Linked DNA regions of Homo sapiens: region 1 is linked to region 2. Evidence: promoter capture Hi-C in 16 types of primary human blood cells and fetal thymus (Javierre and others, 2016). All regions are on one chromosome and are shown on one strand. The core of a region is centred on a gene start or on the middle of the fragment in contact, and the rest is flanking DNA. Distances in the headings are between cores, read along the strand shown. Region 1 has its middle 110 kb from the start of AP1S2. Region 2 holds the start of GRPR (gastrin releasing peptide receptor).

Region 1 (3,945 bases), core at 686-3,185, 160 kb after region 2:
TATTATATTATATATATATATATTTTTTTTTTTTTTTGAAACAGAGTCTCACCCTGTTGCCCAGGCTGGAGTACAGTGGCACAATCTCAGCTCACTGCAACCTCCGCCTCCCGGGTTCAAGCAATTCTTGTGCCTCAGCCTCCTGAGTAGCTGGGATTACAAGCATGAGTCAACATGCCTGGTTAATTTTTGTATTTTTAGTAGAGACAGGGTTTCTCCATGTTGGACAGGCTGGTCTTGAACTCCTGACCTCAAGTGATCTGCCCACCTCGACCTCCCAAAGTGCTGGAATTACAGGCATGAGCCACTGCGCCCAGCCTAACGTTAATTATATTTTATAATATGTCTATTTAAAAGCAGATTTCCAAATCTCTTTGGTAACTTACACCCTTAGAGTGTCAGTAAGTTAAATAGCAGATACCTATTGAATATCTAGACCATTTCCAAATAAGATAAAATGCTGATAATTGCTTACATAAGCTTTACCACTTTTGGCATCTTATTATAAGAAGAACTAAAGATATTTGAGCCTATTAGCAAACATGTCCTGTGCCACATTGAAAAATGGTAATATGAGGGAGCACATACTTTTAGAAATTAAAATGACTAAGAGTTAAGAATTCGAATTAATACATGTGATTAAAACTACTAGAAATTATAAGAGAAACAGCTCTATATACAAGGAAGATAAGATGTATTTTTGATAAGGAAAGTTGTAAGGTATGAGGATATATTTTTGCTAAAGAAAAGAGAGTAATGAATTCTATGCTAAAATAGGCTGACAGATTGTTTTAGGATGAAAAAGGAGAATGAAGGACAAAAACTGAATGCATATAGAAAGCTGGAAGAGAGAGATAAAGAGAGAGAATATCTCATGGCTAAAATGGAATTAATGTATTATAAATGTTTTAAAAATGAGCCTTAATAGGCCGGGCGCGATGGCTCACGCCTGTAATCGCAGCACTTTGGGAGGCCAAGAGGGGAGGATCACGAGGTCAGGAGATCAAGACCATCCTGGCTAACACGGTGAAACCCCATCTCTACTAAAAATACAAAAAAATTAGCCGGGCGTAGTGGAGGGCGCCTGTAGTCCCAGCTACTCGGGAGGCTGAGGCAGGAGAATCGCTTGAACCCAGGAGGCGGAGGTTGCAGTGAGCCGAGATCGCGCCACTGCACTCCAGCCTGGGCGACAGAGCGAGACTCCGTTTCCAAAAAAAAAAAAAAAAAATGAGCCTTAATATTAAAAGTACATTGGTATAAAACTAGAAGCTGGTTTTCTCTCTGTTAAAAGGACAAAGGTTTTTTGGAGCATTGGTCTTCTCTTGAAAGGTTTTCTTTACCTTTTGAGTGAGCTGGCTAGAAAACAAAGATTTTATGTCTTATCAAAATAATTTCCTTTGCTTCATGTTGTCTTTTATCAGGTCTTTGGTGACTTAAGAAAACTGAGTCCCCTCTACTAAAATAGCCAAGGTTTTTTTCTACAACTATTTAACTTTCTGTATTTGCCTTTGAAGTCTTTTAATTATCACTCTGGTTACATGAATGACTATTGTTTCACAGTGACCTGTGATCTTCTTTAATCAACTGTTTTAAACTTTTTGACATTTTTGACAACCTCCCAAAGGCAAATTCTAAATTAAGTCTTTTTAACCTCAAATTAACTTTGGGATTTTTTAGATGGGCCCCAGGAATATCACAAAAGAATTTGTTCTATCTCCTTATATTAATACAAAGAGAGATGTTAAACTAATTAAGTTTATTTTACATGTTAAATTGTATGGAAAGTATTGTCAAATAACAAGTGATGCTAAAGCTTCTACATGTTGCTAAAATGACACTTCAGTAACTGTATGTAACTCCTAGAAATCTGATACATCCTGACATAATGTTTTCAGTCATAATTTTAGTTATTATCTCAAAATATTGTATTTCACAGAAATAAAATTTCCTTGCCAATTACATTATAATGAACTTTTATCTGATCTTTCACCATTGCCATTTTAAGTCTTGTCATCCACCGTCAATTGTTTTACTCTGGTTCTTTCATGAAAGCTTTTGCAAGCAACTATAACCCTGAAGTGTTTCATCTTCAAGGAGATTCATGGAAAGGACTCTGACAAGTACAGGTTTCTAATAACTCTAAGATCATACCATTGAACTGGGGAGAATTTCTAGAACTCCAATGAAGAAACTGATTGGTTGATAAAAGTACTAACCCAATATCAAGCAGAATATGAGTTAATTACATGGGACCAAATGAACTGTTGAAAAAGAATTATGTTTTCTTGTAAACTTGTTGTTTAAAACTGCACTGATTCTTTAATGTTTTTCTAGGTTTGTTTTTTTTTTTTTTTGAGATGGAGTCACGCTCTACTGCCCAGGCTGGAGTGCAGTGGCACGATCTCAGCTCACTACCACCTCCGCCTCCCGGGTTCAGGCAATTCTCCTGCCTCAGCCTCCTGAGTAGCTGGGATTACAGGCACACGCCACCATGCCTGGCTAATTTTTGTATTTTTAGTAGAGACGGGGTTTCACCATGTTGGTCAGGCTGGTCTCAAACTCCTGACCTCATGATCCACCCGCCTTGGCCTCCCAAACTGCTGGGATTACAGGTGTTTTCTAGATTTAAGAAAACTTTTTCTTTTATTTTAAGCTATCTATAGCTTATAACAATTTGGCAAATTATACTTTTGTAAAGAGAATTAAAATATTGACTTTTTCTCCCTACCTGATCCCTCCAGAATTCAGAAGCTATTAGTGGGTATTCTGTTTTTATGGCAATGTAGTTATTTGCATAAGTTCAATAAGAATCTGTTTTCTTTTTTAACAGGACATAATTGGAAACATTGATTATATTACCAAGGCATTTGACTAGAACATCATATTTGAGAATGTGCATAGAACTAGATATGATCAGTTTTTAAGGAACTAAGGTTAACTTCATGGAGACAATAACCATTCCCTGACCCCCCAGAAAAACTGCCTTGGTACCCAATTTAAATGCGTTTCCAGCGTTACAGGTGGGTAAAGAATGCCACTTCCTAGAAGGCCCAGGAACCTCAAGATACCTTGGAGACAGAAAGAAGAGAGGAATTCACCCAAATCAATAAGCATTGCAGGCAAAGTCTGATGGCAAGTCCTAGGCTTGGTTTCTTAGCCTCAAGAGGCTTTTAAAAGTTTAACCTGAGATTTCATATGAAATCTTCCAGGAAAGCGGAGTGTAGATGGTCAATCACTATTCTTGCTGCACTTATATAAATAATCAGGCCAAGTTTAATGAGACTAGACTTATTTTGCAAATAAATTAATCCTACTCCGATTGTCTTTGGCAAAAATGGGGGTGACCATACAGAGAGGAAAATATGTTTCAGAAGAAGACTGTAGTGCAGTCATTATTAGACTCTAGCTTTTTTTGTTTGTTTTTTTAGAGATGGGGTCTCACTCAGTTGCCCAGGCTGGAGTGTGGTGGTGCAATCATAGCTCACTGCAGCCTTGAACTCCTGGGCTCAAGCAATCCTCCCGCCTCAGCCTCCCAAAGTGCTGGAACTGCAGGCATGAACCACCACACCCAGCCCCCTATTCACTGTTTTCGAGGTTTTAGTATCTATCTATAAACTAAACTGGATCCTGAATTCTTTTAGTTTCCTCCAATATCTAATTGCGACTCTCCAAACTAACATTTCTAACTTTCTTCCATCTTTCTAACTTAGAATCGCTAAGAACAAAAACTGCCCTTTTCTCAAAGCCCTGCAAGCTGAAGCTGGATGACTTGATATAGACTTCAAAGAAACCACCACAACAGTTTAGGTATGGGCAACCTTCATGCTTATTGCTGTTATGGGCCATGAAGAAAGTTTACCAGAATACCTCATGCAAACTGCAAACCAGAAAAATCCATCAAATTGCCACTGCCTGCCCTCAGTCCAACTAAAGACACTTTGTGCT
Region 2 (4,159 bases), core at 1,294-3,793:
TGATGGTGAACTTGGTCTGCTTTGAAACTCCAGAGAAGAGTTCCCTGCAGCTGCATCTTTACAGTTCATGCCCTCACTTTCCTTTCTGTTTTTCTCCCTAAGAAGAGAGTAAACACCATCTGTACCACTGCACTCACCAACCCGGAAACCAAAATCTCTCCTTCCCATTAAGAAAATTACCCTCATCCTGAAGAGCCCTCGGCCATTGGTAACAAGCCACAGCCCTTCTGCCAGCTCCAGAGTTTGCCAGCCCTGAATCAATACATGAAACTGTCTGTGGTCATTGGTATCTGTGGGCAGATGTGCAGGGGAGGATGTGCAAGCCGAAGGGGAATGGAGGGAATGGAGAAACTCTGTCCAGTCGGTACAATGTGCAAACCTTACTTCTGTGCTATTACTTTTCAGACTTTGAAAATGTCGTGTGCTGGGCAGTGTGCTTCAGGTAGCTAAGCATAAACACATGTCTATAAATACTGATAACACTATCTTTATTTGTCCATTACTCAACAAAGCCAGATCACCTGAGGACTGTTTGTTCCTCTACAAAATGAGAATCCAGCACCACATGTATTAAAATGTGGGACATTTTCTTCGGAGTATAAACTTTCAAGAGCAGCATCTATGTCTTTTCCAGAACACTCTCAAATCCTTCTGTATCTTTAACACATAACATACAGTTGATTATAAGTGAAAAATTTATAGTCTAGGTTCATTGCAGCAGTTTTTCTGGGTTTGACCATATGGTCTATGCTGTGTCTGAAAGTCTATTCATTACTATGTCCAATTTCCAGAACACAGAAGTACATAAAGTATGTTCAGTAATTTATGTGAACAACCTGCAGCTATTTCTTGACTTGCTAATTCAGGTAAGTGTTTCTTACATGCTAGACACTTGATAAATGTTCAAAGAATGAATATATAGTTTTAAGACTGAATAAACGTAAACTTTTATGCAATGTGCTCACACAAGAAATGCAGTTTGCAAATATGTATATTTCCCAGAATAAAAAACTGTAGTGAACTCCCTCTTCCTCCCCACAATAAGCCCCAAAAGCATGGTATATGAAGTATTGTCAATAAAGATATTAAAATTAGAAATCAACCTTGAATAGAGCTTTCTCCAGAAAATTTTAAAAACTCAAATAATGTTTGATTTCATTTAAGAGAGACTTAGGAAAACCGGCATACAATTGTTCTATCACAGAGAGTCAAATTCAAAATCAGCTGTGAGAAAAGTTAAACTGTCTGAGGAAAATGAATTTCAGAGAAATGAGGCTTATTTTCTCCTCTTGGTTATTTCTGAAAGAACGTTTTGAAGAAATCCAGTGGAACTTTCCTGTTCTCTGAGGGGTTTCAATTGCTCCTAAAAAACATTTGCCTGAGGTTTAAACTCTATTGGGTGTGATTGTCTTTCTCACTGGTCAATTAATTTTGCAAGGAGGGAGAAGTTAGGAAAAGGCAATGCTAAATAGATATGTCTCCAGAAAAAGGCACCTCAGTTTTCTGCTTAGAGATTTTTTTTTTCTCATCTGTCTCCTTCTGTCCCCATCATTCACTTTTCTTTCTTAAACCAATATGTTACACTCAAGAAGTCATACCCAGAATAAAAACCTGCCTGGAAGGGAATCCGTGTTTGAGTAAAACTTCCCTTGTGCAATCAGCTCCCTGTCCCGACATGGTAGTTCATTTACCCAGGCGTCTATCACCCTTGGAGAGCATGTAACTTTCAGCCTGTACTTACCTGTCTGCCGAGAGCGCCGTGAGTGTGAAGACAGACACCCCAACAGAGGTAAGCTGTATAAAGGGGATCAGTTTGCAGCCAATCCTGCCAAATAGCCATCTGTCAGCCAGGTACCTGCTGGCATCCACTGGAGCACACGTTATTAGGAGGAGCAGGTCTCCCAAAGCCAGACTGGAAATGAACAGGTTTGGAACGTTTCGCATGGACTTGACTGTACAGAAGATCTTGATCAAAGTGATGTTGCCAATGAGGCCTATCAGAATGATAACCCCATAAACTGCAGGGATGACATAGAGGATCCCCGGGTGGGACCAGTCATCGTTCACGGGGAGATCCGCACTGTGACTGGAGATGTTGCAGTGCATGAAATGGTCCACCTCCAAGTTCAGAAGGAAACAGTCATTTAGAGCCATCTCTAGATTTTTTTTCCCACCTAAAAGTTCCCTTAGATGCTATTTCTTAACTATTGATTTTGCAACCGAGTGAAGATGAAGATAAGATCTATGCCGGGCTCTTTGCCTTCTTTAATAAAAATACTCTGAGTACATATATACTAACTATGGTATTCAAAACTCTCTGTCACTATTTTGACACTGGTGCTGCTCTGGCTTTCACATGACCAGTGCAATACAACTCTAAATTCAATAAGTTAACAACAACAAAACTTAGCCACAAAAAGGCTTAGAATTAAACCCACTCTGCATCAGTTCTTTCTACCTCCATTCTAGTCTGAGTCTCCCTGGCTGCAGTTTACTAAGAACTTTTGGCCTGCTATTTTCCCACAGCGTCTTTCCTGATATTTAGAATCTGGAGGTTTAAAGTGGGTAGAAAAAAACTGCACTGAGAAATCCTCAAATCCTATAGGCAGGATGCTTTGCACGTCACGGGCTTCACCAGCAAACGGCAGCTCCGCTGAGCTGAGGCTCTGAAGAGGAACCAGTGTTACTTATAGACAGAGAATGCCAGCCCCCTGCTGGACACTTCAATCACTGCCCAGTTGCCTGCTTTCTCCAGATGAGAAGCAACCAGCCGACTGCAGTTCCTACCTAGCTTAACAGATACCTTTGGCTTCTCATGTAAGCACATAGCACCTAGGGTAGGTATTTAATAAATGTTGCTAGCATTCTGCAAAGGCACTGAAAATCTTTCTGATACTATCCCCATGAATCCAGATGGGGATTTACATCCCATTTTCTCATTTTTTCTAATTCATTAGAATGACATGTCAATATTGCTATCAAATGAGGTCTGTCTTTGAATTAAACGCACACTGATGCACAGGGTGTCCATGTGTGAGTTATCCCACTCAGTCTTCCCACTGCCTCTTTGAACAGGGACTGATCCTCAGAAACACATGCACAGACTCACACCTTAAACCTTCAGCAACTGACATCTGGAAAAGCCAGAAGCACAATGCACACATGTTCTTTCCTGTAGATTTGCCAAGCCATTCCTATTCTGTTTACCAGGGAGAAATTAAATTGGGAACCAGCTGTATTCTTAACTCTCAATGATCAATAGTCTTTTCCAGAAAAATGGGTCTTTTCTCATCTGATCTAAAAATTTTATGAATCGGCATTTTGATGCAGCTATTTGCATTTTTAATTGAATGTTTGCCATGTTTTATAGCAAATATCCTCTTTATAGCCCTGTGTGGAAAATAAAGAACTATAAAAGCGTGATAGATACAATACTGAGGAATTGAGTGGGTGGTAAAAGAAGTAAGTTATCGTTGAAGGAGTGCTAGAAAAAGCTTAATTGAGGAAGTGCTATTAGAATCAGGCTTAGACCTTTAGCCAACAACTTCTAAATACATTATTAGAGTGCATCTTTATGACGTATGTGAAGCCAGCTCCTCCAGGTACATGACGTGAAGCCAGTCACTAACAGGTGAAGTCTCATTTTTCAGAACCCATAAGGAATAACAAAACTTGCACTTACCATGCCAGGGCCCACAAAGAAAGCCCCCAACTGTGTTGTTATGGACATTTCCAGTGGCAGGTTCCAACACTGAGGCTGCTGCCATGCTTTCTATGTAAATATGAAAGGCTCAGCGCCCCTCTCTGCCAGCAGGAGGGAGACTGATGCTGCATGGCTAGAGGTGGAAGAGCTTCTCGGCAGAGATCAGTAGCACCAGTAACCAGCCAATAGCCATGAGCCCAGTGGTGTTGATTAGTTGCCAGCAATATAGCTTAATGATACAGTACACAGGCTCTGCTTCAATCCTGGCTCCCTCATTTATAATTATGGCAAGTTACTTAGTGTCTTAAGCTTCAGGTTCCTCATCTGCAGGGTGAGGAGAACTTATGAAGTTAGATGAAATGATTCATGTTAAGATTGCATAGTATTTGGCACATAGTAAGTGCTCAATTAATATTAGCACTTATTATTATTATCATTATTAGATTGAGGGGGAAA

What was found. The method cuts DNA at HindIII sites, captures the fragments that hold promoters and counts their contacts. A CHiCAGO score of 5 or more calls a contact.
Region 1: a fragment that was not itself captured here is called in contact with the fragment with the promoter of GRPR in region 2 in 2 of 17 cell types (total B cells and M0 macrophages); the score reaches 6.8 in total B cells.

The regions. Positions count from the first base shown.
Region 1 is chrX:15,966,097-15,970,041 of GRCh38, reverse strand. No RefSeq gene overlaps it. Among named protein-coding and RNA genes, the nearest start is that of AP1S2, 110 kb to the right of the region's middle. The HindIII fragment of the contact is 239 bases long and covers 1,816-2,054 here.
Region 2 is chrX:16,121,949-16,126,107 of GRCh38, reverse strand. It overlaps GRPR (gastrin releasing peptide receptor), which reads right to left and starts at 2,543. Exons shown (of 3, transcript NM_005314.3): 1 at 1,742-2,543. The coding sequence starts at 2,154. RefSeq lists an enhancer at 2,548-2,842. The HindIII fragment of the contact is 8,500 bases long and covers 1-3,496 here.